3 separate regions of the Homo sapiens genome follow, and regions 1 and 2 are each linked to region 3. The links are contacts of gene promoters, found by promoter capture Hi-C in blood cells and fetal thymus (Javierre and others, 2016). All regions are on one chromosome and are shown on one strand. The core of a region is centred on a gene start or on the middle of the fragment in contact, and the rest is flanking DNA. Distances in the headings are between cores, read along the strand shown. Region 1 overlaps MTA3 (metastasis associated 1 family member 3). Region 2 overlaps MTA3 (metastasis associated 1 family member 3). Region 3 holds the start of KCNG3 (potassium voltage-gated channel modifier subfamily G member 3).

Evidence for each region. Contacts are between HindIII fragments. The CHiCAGO score rates a contact against its expected background, and 5 or more counts as called.
Region 1: a fragment that was not itself captured here is called in contact with the fragment with the promoter of KCNG3 in region 3 in 12 of 17 cell types (fetal thymus, naive CD4 T cells, naive CD8 T cells and 9 more); the score reaches 13.4 in fetal thymus.
Region 2: a fragment that was not itself captured here is called in contact with the fragment with the promoter of KCNG3 in region 3 in 1 of 17 cell types (fetal thymus); the score reaches 6.9 in fetal thymus.

What each region holds. Positions count from the first base shown.
Region 1 is chr2:42,644,631-42,649,128 of GRCh38, forward strand. All of the region lies in intron 6 of MTA3 (metastasis associated 1 family member 3), which reads left to right. Among named protein-coding and RNA genes, the nearest start is that of MTA3, 78 kb to the left of the region's middle. The HindIII fragment of the contact is 3,791 bases long and covers 1,323-4,498 here.
Region 2 is chr2:42,715,564-42,719,881 of GRCh38, forward strand. MTA3 (metastasis associated 1 family member 3) reads left to right here. Exons shown (of 17, transcript NM_001330442.2): 15 at 3,425-3,511. Among named protein-coding and RNA genes, the nearest start is that of OXER1, 46 kb to the right of the region's middle. The HindIII fragment of the contact is 3,978 bases long and covers 575-4,318 here.
Region 3 is chr2:42,491,137-42,495,941 of GRCh38, forward strand. It overlaps KCNG3 (potassium voltage-gated channel modifier subfamily G member 3), which reads right to left and starts at 2,846. Exons shown (of 2, transcript NM_133329.6): 1 at 1,701-2,846. The coding sequence starts at 2,365. It also overlaps a transcript of MTA3 not described here. RefSeq lists enhancers at 1,033-1,790, 1,791-2,548, 3,873-4,167 and silencers at 2,629-2,718, 2,899-2,948, 3,039-3,118. The HindIII fragment of the contact is 17,203 bases long and covers 1-4,619 here.

The DNA.
Region 1 (4,498 bases), core at 1,968-4,467, 150 kb after region 3:
GAGTAAGTCATTTGGTGCCATTTTTCCAACAGGACAGTGTCTCTGTGTCAAATTTTGGTAATTCTTGAAACATTTCAAACCTTTTCATTATTATAATATCTGTTATAGTGATCTGTGATCAGTGATCTTAGAGGTAACTATTGTAATTGTTTTTGGGGCCACGAACCGTACCCATATGAAAGGATAAACTGAATTGATAAATGCTGTGTGTTCTGAGTGCTCCACTGACTGTCCCTTCCCTGCCTCTTTCTCTCTCCTGGGGTCTCCCTATTTTATGAGACACAACAATATTGAACTTAAGCCAGTTAATAACCCTGCAGTGGCCGGTAAGTGTTCAAGTGAAAGGAAAAGTAGCATGTCTCTCACTTTAAATCATAAGCAAGAAATGAAGCTAGTGAGGAAGGCGTGTCAGAAGCCAAGATAGGCTAAAAGCCACGCCTCTTTCCCCAGTTAGCCAAGTTGTGAATGCAAAGGAAAAGTTCTTGAAGGAAATTAAAAGTGCTACTCCACACTCCAGCCTGGGTGACAGAGTGAGACTCTGTCTCAAAAAAAAAAAAAAAAAAAAAAAGCTACACCAGTGAACACACATGAATGATAAAAAAAAGCAAAACAGGCTGGGTGCAGTGGCTCATGCCTTTAATCCCAGCACTTTGAGGGGCCGCAGCAGGTGGATTACTTGAGACCAGGAGTTCGAGACCAGCCTGGCCAACATGGTGAAATGCCATCTCTACTAAAAATACAAAAACTAGCCAAGTGTGATGGTGTGTGCCTGTATTCCCAACTACTCGGGAGGCTGAGGCAAGAGAATCCTTTGAACCTCGGAGGCAGAGGTTGGAGTGAGCCAAGATTGTGCCACTGCACTCCAGCTTGGGCAACAGAGTGAGACTTTGTCTAAAAAACAAACAAACAAACAAACAAACAAACAAACAAAACAGCCTTACTGCTTTACTGCTGATACCATGGAGAAAGTCTTAGTGGCGTAGATAGAATATCAAACCACCAAGAACATTCCTTTAAACCAAAGCCTAATCCAGAGCAGGGCCCTAAGTCTCTTCAATTCTGTGAAGACTGAGAGGTGAGGAAGCTGGAGAAGAAGAATTTGAAGCCAGCAGAGGTTGGGTCATGGGGTTTAAGGAAAAAATTCTTCATCATAACATAAAAATGCAAGTAAAGCAGCAAGTGCTGATGTAGAAGCTGCAGCACGTTATCCAAAACTAGCTAAGGTCACTGATGAAGGCTGCTACTCTGAACAACAGAGTTTCAATGTAGATAAAACAGCTTTCTATTGGAAGAAGATGCCATCTAGGACTTTCATAGCTAGAAGCTTCAAAGGACAGCCTGACTCTCTGATTAGTGACTAATGTAGCTGGTGACTTGAAGCCAATCCTCGTTTACCATTCCAAAAATCCCAGACCTCTTAAGAATTACACTAAATCTGCTCTGCCTGTGTCCTGTAAATAGAACAACAAAGCCTAAATGACAGCACCTCTATTTACAGTATGGTTTACTGAATATTTTAAGCTCACTGTTGAGACCTACTGCTTAGGAAAAAGGATTCCTTTAAAAATTCTTTTCAAAAACTGCTCATTGATAATGCTCCCCTTCACCCAAGAGCTCTGATGGGGATGTACAAGGAGGTGAATGTTGTTTGCATGACTGCTGAGACAACATCCATTCTGGAGTCTATGGATCAAGGAGAAATTTTGACTTTCACATTTTATTATTAAGAAATAACATCACCTAAGGCTATACTTGCCATAGATAATGATTCCTCTGATGGATCTGAGTAGTCAATCGAAAACCTTCTGGAAAGAATTCTCCGTTCTAGATGCCAGTAACAACAACTGTAATTGATAGGAGGAGGTCAAAATATTAACATTAAGAGGAGTTTAGAAGAAGTTGATTCCAACACTCGTGGATAACTTTGAAGGGTTTACGACTTCAGTGGTGGAAGTAACTGTAGTTATGGTGGATATAATATGCAAGAAAACTACAGTGAGCGTGGGCCCTGAGGATGTGACTGACTGAATTGCTGCAATCTTGTGGTAAAACTTGGATGAGTGAGTAGTCGATTCTTATGGATGAGCAAAGAAAGTGGTTTCTTGAGATGGAATCTACTCCTGGTGAAGATGCTGTGAACACTGTTGAAATGGCAACGAAGGATTTGGAATATTATATAAACTTAGTTGGCAAAGCAGTGGCAGGGTTTGAGAGGGTTGTCTCTGTTTTTGAAAGAAGTCTACTGGCTGAGCACGGTGGCACACGCCTGTAATCCCAGCACTTTGGGAGGTCGAGGCAGGCGGATCACGAGGTCAGGCGATCGAGACCATCCTGGCTAACATGGTGAAACCTCGTCTCTACTAAAAATACAAAAAATTAGCCGGGCGTGGTGGCGGGCGCCTATAGTCCCAGCTACTCGGGAGGCTGAGGCAGGAGAATGGCGTGGAACCCAGGAGGCGGAGGTTGCAGTGAGCCGAGATCGCGCCACTGCACTCCAGCCTGGGTGACAGAGTGAGACTCTGTCTAAAAAAAAAAAACAAAAAAGAAAGGAAGTCTACCATAGGTAAAATGCTATTGAGCATCACATGCTACAGAGAAAAACTTTTTTTTAGAGACAGAGTCTCGCTCTGTTGCCCAGGCTGAAGTGCAGTGGCACAATCTTGGCTCACTGCAGCTTCCGCCTCCTGGGTTCAAACGATTCCTGTGCCTCGACCTCTCGAGTAGCTGGGATTACAGGCATGTGCCACCATGCCCAGCTAATTTTTTTTGTATTTTTATTAGAGATGGGGTTTTGCCATGTTGGCCAGGCTGGTCTTGAAGTCCTGACTTCAAGCGATCTGTCCACCTTGGCCTCCCAAAGTGCTGGGATTACAGGTGTGTGCCATCCCCCCACCCCACCTGCCTCCCACCCCGCCTCCCACTGCCAGCAGTCTTGGAATGTTTTAACCAGAAACAAGGAATGCCTTTCCTTTCTTCAAGGCTACTTCTGGGTATTTATTTTTACATTTTATAACTTGGTAGTTTTCTTTGTTAAGTATTCATCTCTAACAAAAACAACAGATTTATCGATTTTATTGAAAAATACTGTATTTTTCATCATAAATGTAGAAGCCATTTTGAACTCTTATTTCAGCCTGAAGCATTAAAGCATATGCAGAATGTTTCTTTTCACTTGTAATCAGGCAACTGAGTAGATGCAAGGTTTAAAGAACTCTTCTTTTTTTTGAAATGGAGTTTCGCTCTTGTTGCCCAGGCTGGAGTGCGGTGGCGTGATCTCGGCTCATTGCAACCTCCGCCTCCCAAGTTCAAGCAATTTTCTCCTGCATCAGCCTCCCAAGTGGCTGGGATTACAGGTGCCTGCCACCACACCCAGCTAACTTTTGTATTTTTAGCAGGGACAGGGTTTCGCCGTGTTGGCCAGGCTGGTCTTGAACTCCTGACCTCAGGTGATCCACCTGCCTTGGCCTCCCAAGGTGCTGGGATTACAGGCATGAGCCTCTGCACCCAGCCACCCTTCTTTTTTCTAATGACTATTTTTTTAGGGGGGAAGGAGTGGGGATACCAGTAGGTATACCAGTAATTAACCACACTTGAAAAACATGGTCATTGCCATCACAGAAACTCCCATATGTAGCTAGTACCTGATTGCAGGGAAGTTAAATAGTAGGACATATCATATTCAAGAACAGATGTTTAGGATTTGCTGGAATCCATTCTTCCTAACCCTTTTAGTACTCCTGAGTGGGTACATTTCCACCAGTGGCCAGATTCTAATTTGCATTGGCATGGAATGTAGAACTGGAATTAATATCTTGGGTAGGTGGCAGCAGCAGCACTCTGCCAGGATATGTTACAGGCTTGCTTTCTTTGTGAACATGTCTTGATGGATAGGATACTGAGAGATTGTTGCAGCATTTGTCTTGCTAGGGAATAAATCTTTTTGTGGCTTTTCGATTTTTAAATTCATTTATGGCTACCCATCACCTAACAAACTCTAGAGATCTGAAAAGAGTATGTAGTTTACAAATGAAAGTAAAGGCGTCTTTTAGATTTTACATCTTTCACTGAGTTTGAATAAACCACCTAGAAAATTTTCCATAAAAGAGAAGTTTTGAGTCATTGTTTAAATGTATTATTATAACATTGGAATTTTAAGAAAAATTTGTTCTACATATTAAATTTAAATTTTAACTGTTAAAGTATGTTATGAAAACCTTAAATTATTAAACGAAAATGACTCTAGGTTCACAAGTTTGGGTAATCCTGACTATACTATGTTTTAATTGAGTAACCTTGGGGAAATGATTAACCCCTCCAAGTTCCTGTTTCTTTCTCTTTAAACAGGGAATGATAGTGTATGTAATACATTATATCGTTGCGATGAGCAAATGAGGTAATTCTTGTCATGCAGTTAGCACAGCGCCCAGCTGTTACAGTCTTCTCCCCCTGGCCTCTAGTACCACTCATTTAATAGCTGTTATCGGCCGGGTGTGGTGGC
Region 2 (4,318 bases), core at 1,314-3,813, 220 kb after region 3:
ATTAGTGAAATATGCTTCTTTCTAAAAAGCTTTGATCTCCCATTCAGAGGTACTCTGTAATGCAAATTGTCACTTAGAACATCATATAATTAATCCTCCTATTTTTAATGAGAAATTAGAAGCAAATATAGTTTAAAATGAAGTATCTTTGGGTATTGTGTTGGTGACCTCTTTGATGGATTTGTTGATGATAGCCATCAATGTCTATCAATTGCTGCCATATTGGCAGTTTTCCTTTGGGTCATCTAGACTGGAATAAAAGGCAAATCTTATTACTAGTAATATGGTGATTGCCTTTGTCAAGACATTGAGGAAATAACCAAGATGACTCATTCCAGCTTTATTAATAGAGAAGAAAGAAAAATTTATCTTGTCCTTATCCCAAATATAACTTGAATTTCAGGTGAATCAGTAATATTAGCAAGAAATTATGTAGTGTTAACTCAATGGTTTGGCAGGCGTTTGATCCTTACAGGCTTTGGGTTGCTTCCTAGTGTTTATTTAGATTACTCTTCCACAAGATGTTTATTATATTTCTGCCTGTATCTTCACTATTATTCAACAATAGGTGAAAAGCTTCATAGCTTAGTAATTTATTTTTTCTCCTGGGAATCACCTGAATAGGAAGAAAAGAAATTGGATCATTTATACTTGTCAGTGGTTGCATAATAATTAGCCAATATCTGGGTGCTATATTTTCAGATTCCTGATTGTTTTAGGCTCTCTGCAGTATGTGCTTTGTCTATTTTAATGTTTTTAAACTTATTTTTTAACTTTTAAAAAAGTTCAGGGGTACATGTGCAGGTTTGTTATATAGGTAAACTTGTGTCAAGGGGGTTTGTTGTACAGATTATTTCATCATCCAATTATTAAGCCTAGTACCCATTAGTTATTCTTCCTGATACTGTCCCTCCTCTCACCCTCCACCCTCCAATAGGCCCCAGTGTCTGTTGCTCCCCTCTGTGCATCCATGAGTTCTCATCATTTAGCTCCGACTCATAAGTGAGAACATGCAGTATTTGGTTTTCTGTTACTGTATTAGTTTGCTAAGGATAGTGGCCTCCAGCTCCATCCATGTTCCTGCAAAGGACATGATATCGTTCTTTTCTTCTGGCTGCATAGTGTTTCATGGTGTACATGTACCACATTTTCTTTATTCAGTCTATCATTGGTGGATATTTAGGTTGATTCCATGTCTTTACTATTGTGAATAGTGTTGCAATGAACATATACATGCATGTGTCTTTATGATAGAATGATTTATATTCCTTTGGGTATATATCCAGTAGTGGGATTGTTGGGTGATAGTTCTGTTTCTAGCTCTTTGAGGAATCACCACACTGTTTTCCACATGGTTGAACTAATTTGTATTCCCATCAACCGTGTATAGCATTTCTTTTTCTCTTCAACCTGTTTTCTCTGCCAGCATCTGTTATTTTTTGACTTAATGATAGCAATTCTGACTAGTGTGAAATAGTATCTCATTGTGTTTTTTTTAACCACAATGAGAATTTTTAAAAAATGCTCTTTTGCCATCTTCGGTTTAATAATTTTCAGAAAAGAGTTTTTTTTTTTTTTTTTTTTTTTTTGGTGAAAGGGCTAGAACTCATAAAAACCTAACTTTTATTTAAAATTATTTGAAGTTCCAGACTTGCACATTTTAACTCTAGTAGAGCAAATAATTCCTGTGGGTATCAAAGGAAATTCCCTGTGTGTATGCCCAGAAATGTCTCAGTTTGCAAAAGGAAAAATTCTTCAGTAAATCAGAAAACCTGTAGGACATTTTTGTCAAATATTTGAAGGTGGGAAAAAGGCATAAACATAGTAGAATCATACAGGTTAAAGTGATTCTGTTAATATTTATGACAGTATTAAAGTGTTTCAATACACGTTTTGTTTTGTCCCTTTGTCTTGCACATCTACTCTTCCAAATGACAGCTAATTAAAACACAGAATGTTTGTATTGTATGCTTTATTTTTGTCTGAAAATGTCTTACAATAGGGTATAATGAGCATCATGAAAACTGATTAGCTAATACCCATCCTCACTGTTTCTTACTGTTCTGACTGTTGGATGAAATACTCTGTTTGCACACAGGTAGCCTTTTAAATCTCAGCACCAATGAATGACATAGCTTGATCAGGGTTAGAAAACCAGTGATAAAACCAAATGGCCCATTATTACTCTTGCAAATCCCTAGCCTAACAATTGAGTTTTGCCAAGATAGGTTAAGCCTTCACAGTGGGGAAGGGATGGCCAAGTATGGCCCATCTAGGTCAGAGATGGCGAAGTTTGTTGCCTTTAGCAGCTGTCATTTATCTTCCATGTCATTTCAATCTTACGTTAAGACTGATTCCACCTTGTGCTTTACGGCGATTATTTCTGCTATAATGTAGAAATGCCATGGCTAGAAATGAAGCATATTTCTGAGATGGGCACACGCAATAAAAAAGCATGAGTGTGTTGGATGTGTATTAGCTATACCCATATGGGGCTTTAAAGTGAGTGTTTTCCATATTACTCTGGTACCTTTTTTTTTTTTTTTTTCGCTTTATTTCTAGGGGTTAACGAGTTCTTTTGATAGCCCATGAAAACATCACATGGTTATTGTAGGCATGACCTAGATAATGGTGGTAATGTCCTTGAAGAGTGCTGTCTGTATTCTCTTGCATGTAAATTATTATTGTTATTATTATTATTGAGATGGAGTTTCGCTCTTGTTGCCCAGGCTGGAGTGCAATGGCGTGATCTTGGCTCACCGCAATGTCCACCTCCTGGGTTCAAGCAATTCTCCTGCCTCAGCCTCCCGAGTAGCTGGGATTACAGGCATGTGCCACCATGCCCAGCTAATTTTGTGTTTTAGTAGAGATGGGGTTTCTCCATGTTGGACAGGCTGGTCTTGAACTCCTGGCCTCAGGTGATCTACCCTCCTTGGCCTCCCAAAGTGCTGGGATTACAGGCATGAGCAGGTGGGCAGAACACAAGATTAGGAGTTCGAGACCAGCCTGACCAACATGGTGAAACCCCATCTCTACTAAAAACACAAAAATTAGCCCAGCATGGTGGTGTGCACCTGTAATCCCAGATACTCAGGAGGCTGAGGCAGGAGAATTGCTTGAACCCAGGAGGTGGAGGTTGCAGTGAGCTGAGAGCACGCTATTGTACTTCAGCCTGGGTGACAGAGTGAGCCTCCGTCTCAAAATAATACTACTACTAATAATTACATGTTATTTTATGTAAATCCCATTTAGAAATTGGGAACCAGAACTAGAAACCATTTTCTCAAACCCAAAAGGAAATTATGCGGGAATCTGGTGGCTATTTTGTACTGTTTTCCACTTGTACCTTTATTTCTGTGGTGCATGTAGTCTGGCTAGAGAAATCCATTTCATTGGTTATCTCCATGTTTCTTTCTCTCCTCAGATGCAGACAGACATGCTGAACTATCTGGAAGTCCACTGAAAAGCAAAAGCACTAGGAAGCCTTTGGCATGTATCATTGGGTATTTAGGTGGGTATTTTCTAATAGAGGAAAAACTCAAAGAGCAATTTCTGAATAGTATAGATATTTGGCAATTCTAAATGGACATACCTAAACTAATTCAGGCCCTTCAAATAGCCGAAATTGGATACCTTTATATAGTCAGTTTATTTTGTTTCAGAAACTTTTATTACCAGCACACACAACACACACACATACACACACAGATTTATGATATATGTCTACTTTTTCCAAAAAGCCATCGAATAAAAATGTAATATATATTCATGGAAATAAATACAGATTAAGCAAAAAAGAAAATGAAAAGCATTCAGTTAGTACTTAGGATGAATAGTCTTAATATTCTTCTTCAGATCCCTTCCCTGTTTCTAACTCACCTCACCTCTTTTTAAATAGAAGATTTATTTACTTATTAAAATGAGATCAAACTGGTTTATAACTTATCTTAAAATAATTATAGGTTTTAATTTTTTATTTTATTTGTTTTTTGTAGAGACAGGGTCTCGCTTTGTTGCCCAGGCTGGTCTCAAACTCCTGGCCTCAAGCGATCTTCCTGCCTTGACTTCCCAAAGTGCTGGGATTACAGATGTGAGCCACTGCTTCAAGCCTTAAATATTTATAGTTTTGGTGTGCTTTAGGTGACTTTGAAGGGGAGGCATTTGTATTGCTTTCTTATTTTTATCATGCCATCTGACTTGGAAATCTCCAAAGATGATAGCTCCATTTTTATGTTGAAATATCACAATTAAGAATAGTATACAAAATTACTATGCAATAATCTCTTTGTTTAAACAAAGTTTTAAGAGAAATAACTTA
Region 3 (4,805 bases), core at 1,596-4,095:
TTCTCCCTTCACTTCTTTTGCAGTCTCCCTCTTTTCCATCTCTGTCTTCCCTTTTTTGTTTCTTGTGTTTCTCTCCCTAAAATTACTATGCATTTCTCTCATTTCTTTACAAATGCTTTACATTAATGATCTCCATATGGCCCTTTCCCTCTCCCAAAACACCCTCCCTCCCCCTAAGATTATATTTGAGGTATTTTACTGGTTTTGCTCATATACTGGTTCAGTCAACTCCCTCATTATCTGCACTAATAATAATTCAATTCTCCTGTTTCCTTTGCTAATGTAGCTCAAACCTTCACTAACCTTAGAATTCTACAGTTACTGGAGAATCAAAATTCCAAGTCCATTTTCCTAAAGCCCTCCTTAAAAAAAAAAGGCATTTATGTATTTAGGTAAATAAATTAATTTCATTGTATTGTTGGAGAACCAAATAAGTAACTCTTATCTGTAAATTCAAAACTGTTAGAACCTAATTCACTAAACAAAATGAGTTTCCTAATGAATTTCCTTTCAAAGCATGTATCTTCGATTTCAAGCCAAGAAGAAATAATAGACTCCGTGGCACTAGACAATTTTATTTACTTCTTAGATTTATATAAAAATCCTTACTCCCTACAGGAAGAATATTATGTAGAAGTAATCCACTGCAATAGCAAGGCCGCCGTTCCGAACATGTACATGCCTATCAGTAAAACATGACAGGGCACAACCTTAAATTTAAAAAATGAATGGAAGGAGGATCTTAAGACAGTGTCAAACAGATAAACTATAATATGCAGTTTGGGTTTTGTGCCCCAAAAGGCTGTCTTCTTTGAAAGTCCATCCTTAGTCTGCTTATTCCTCCCACTGAATATGCTCACTTGTACTAAAAACAGGAAAGTGCTATCACCACTTCAAGGTAAGACAGTCTAAGAAAAGACTGCAATATTTTCCCATTCATCCTAGTAAAGTAGAAAAAAAAATTTACCCAAATACTGTTTTCTGGATTTAGGACAGTTTAGATTTTTCTTTGTTCTCAAGGTAATGGTTTTTTCCCTTCCCATATCATAGACCCTCTGAAAGTCGCAGTGTGAATCTTTGCTACCAAACGGTGGACAAGAGGTTTGCTAACTCCATACTTTGTAGGAAAAGGGGGAAGAAAAGGGCACAGACATCCATTATTTAGAGTCTATCGATAAATTAACCTGCTTTATAATATAACGATTCCATTACAGCACATAGTATGCCGGGGGCAGAGTGTATAGAATGTGTGGAGAGTGCACATTTCACCATAACAAGAATCCATCTTTCCAAACACTACCAAAAATTGGCAAATAATTCAAACTGCGCTTAGTTCAAGGCTTAATTGTTGAACCCTAACAATAAAAGTTCAGAAAAATGTAATTAGCAGGTTGCTCTCTGCGCAAAAGTAAACTACAAAGAGGGGACATTTGTCTATCTCTACACGCCCCTCCCCATGCCTGAGGATTTCGCCCTCAAGAGGTGCGTCTAGTGTAAGGGCCAGACCCCGCTGGTGCCCCGGACAACGGGGTAGGAGTGGGGACCGACCGGTCCCGTAGTTGGCCGCGCCTGGGCCTCGCTGGGCGCGCACCCCGCTGGCTCGGTCGCCCGGAGGCGGACAGGACGGAGACGGGACGTATGGACGGGACGGACAGACGCGACAGGACGGACGGGACGGGTAGAGAAGCAGTGCGTCCTACCCGGAGGGCTCCCTCCCAGGGCCGGCGGAGTACCTGCTCCGGTCATCCAGGCTGCGGTTGTCGGCGGCTGCGTTGCGCCAGTCGGGCAACGTGCTGGCGCACAGCACCACCATGGACACGATCACGAACACCACCGACACGCTAGCCAGGATCTGCGCGGCCAGCGACGACGTGGGCTCCTCGAAGGTCCGCCGCATGCGCTCCAGCCAGCGCCTGGAGGGAGCCGCCTCGGCCCCGCCGGGGCGCGCCTCGTCGCGGCCCAGCACGCCCGGCTCGTCGGCCGAGTAGAAGGTGTAGGTGTCGGACATGCGGTCGTCGAGGCGGCGCTGGCAGCAGTACTCGAGGTGCGCGCCCTCCAGGCCCCAGTAGATCATCTCGTTGTAGAAGGAGAGCTCGCACATCCGCGGCGCGAAGCGCAGCTTGCCGTGGCCGCGCACGTAGAGCAGGATGAAGCCGAAGGCCTCCGAGTGCCGGTCGAAGAAGTACTCGTTGCGCTCGCGGTCGTAGTCGTCGCACACCTCGAGCACGTCGCGCTCGGAGCGGCAGCCGTGCAGCCGGCTCACGCGGCGCAGCGGGAAGTCCTTCAGCAGCTCCCGGGACAGCGAATACCGGGCGCCGCCCACGTTCAGCACCACCGAGGCCGCCCCGCTGCGCCCGAAGGTCATGGCTGGCCGCCCGGGGGACTTTCGGCCCGAGGGCCCCGCTGCAGCCCCCCACCCCAAGCCGCCACGCGGGGCCTGCCTGCCCGTGGCTGACGGGGGAGCGCGCCGTCGGGGCCCGCGCTCCCTCGGGGCTCCGCTCCTGCCCTCCGCTGGCCCGGGGGTCCCTGGGCTCGAGTATCTCCGGCGCTGCTAGTAGCGCGCCCTCCGCCCGGCGGTACCTGCGGGTGGCCGGGGAGTCCTCGCCGGCGCCAGCGCTGAGCCCCACCGGCTGGGAACGCGGCTGTGTCCGCGCCGCCGACCCTCGCGCCCGAGGGCTGCGCACACCGAGGCCGCGGTGCCCTCTCCCAAGCCGCGGGGCCGACCCCCTGAGGGCTGCGGGCGCCGAATGGAGCCGCCGGGGCGGAATAGCTCCCCGTCTCCGGCGCTCCCTGCGGCCGCGAATCCGGCGGCCGCCCCGCCGCCGTCCAGAGGCGAGAGGCAAAGTGAGCGGGTTCGGAGGCGGCGAAGAGCCGGCTCGCGGCGGCGGGGGCGGGGCCTCTGTGCAGTCCTCCTCCTCGCCCGCCGGCTCCGCGCGCGCCGCTCACCTCCCTCCGCGCCGCCCTCCGCTTCCCGCCCGCGCCCGCACCTCCCCGGCTTGCTCGGGCTGGGATTCCCGGGCGCCCCGCCCTGGACCTCGGGCTCCCCGCCTCGTGACGCCGTCCTCCCCCTCCGCTCCGGCCCGTAGTGGCGGGGAGGGGTCCGCAGGGCGGGGGAGCGGGGAGCCCAGCGCCGGGATGCCTGCTCCCGCGTCCTGCCCTGGGCCATCGGGATGAATTGGGCAGTCCCCAGGGCCCCTTTTAACAGCCCTGGTTCAAAGCCCAGTGTGGACTCGGGTGCGGGGACAGACGGCGTTTGGAGAGCTTTTTCCAGAAACTGTCCGGAGCCCAGCTCGGGTTCTGACATCGCCCCTAAGGATTTCTCAGGGAAGGCATCCCAGCCACGGCTTTTCCTGCCGACTTTGCTCTTCCTACCGCCGCGCGGGGCGACCCACGTACCGCGTGCTCAGAGGGCGGCTACACGCCCCATCCCCCAGCCTCGGTGCCGCCTGCCAGCCCGCGGAGGGAAGCGGTCCCCGACCCGGCCCCGGCCCCCACGTTCTGGGGCGCGAGTCCTGAGAAGGCGCCTAACGTGTAGCGCGCCTGGACCCTCTCGAGATGCTGCCCTTAGAGTGGGATGAAAGTCTGGGGAGGAACGCCTTGTCACCGGCAAAAACAGCCTTTCTCTTGGTCTTCGTCTGCATCCTCCTTTTCAAAATATCTTGATTTCCCCCGCGCACCCCTGACCCGGCTGCAGCACCGGCCCTCCGAGCGGGAAGAGCCCCGTGAAGGCTCCGCAGAGCGATCTACCCCGCGCTCTTGTCCGTGCCCAGAAAGCGGGTTCCACTTGGCAGGGATTATTTTAAACTGCTACCAGCAATTCATTCACCTGACACCCGACACCGGCAGCCCAGCCCGCCGGAGGCGAGACAGGTGAGTTGTAAGGCGAACCGTGTTAGATGCAAAACAAATACTAGAAGAAAAAAATAAGGGTGGGGTAGGGTGAGATGCGGTCATCTGACCACAGGGTAACCTGGCTGGTTAAAGGGAAGAGTTTTTCATTGCCCTCTACTTTTCGTAATTTTGTAGGATTGTCCGGTGCCCGCTAGAGGTCGCCAAACGGAGTCCTTTTGCGCTGGTTCTTAAGTGGATTCCTAGTGAAAAGGCAGACAACTGAAAATGTGAGTGCTGTCTTTTAAGTAAAATCACTCTCGGTGGCTTCTTAAAGAATGAAAATCTCTGTGAGTTGTTTATCCCCAGACTTGGATAATTTATCTTAAGAGCACTAAATGTGATTAAAAGCTCAAAAACAGGAGTTATTTGCTACTTTAGTATCTACTAAATAGTTTGCTATTCAGTATCTATTTTGCTATTTAGTGTCTACTGGGTAGATACTGCTACTTTGCTGTTTAGTATCTACTAAGTAGATATTAAACAAGAAAAATATCTGTAAGAAAGTGAGTTTCAAGACAGAATTGGAGGTGCTGATGGCCATGAGTTGGCACAGAGAAAGGGCAAAACATTCCTAGTAGCAAAATCTCGAATGTGGAGGTTTAAAGTCTGTGAAGAAGTATAATGCACTTGCCCACTGAAACAATGGGGATCTCAACTGCAGCATTTAAATTGGATCCCATAAGCAATGGAATCCCTGGAGGTTTCCATAGCAGAAATGGCTTGATGAAAGCTTTATTTCAGGAAGATGCCTTTGCACTTTGGGTCATTCTAAGGAGAAGGTCATTTCGCAACCCAGGAATGGGATCCCCAACCCCGTGTCTGTGAAGATGAAGAAGGGTCTGTTCTGAGAAACGCTGAGACCAAGAACTTTGCAGGTCTTGAAGATGGATTTGTTGTAGGACGTGAGGATGGGG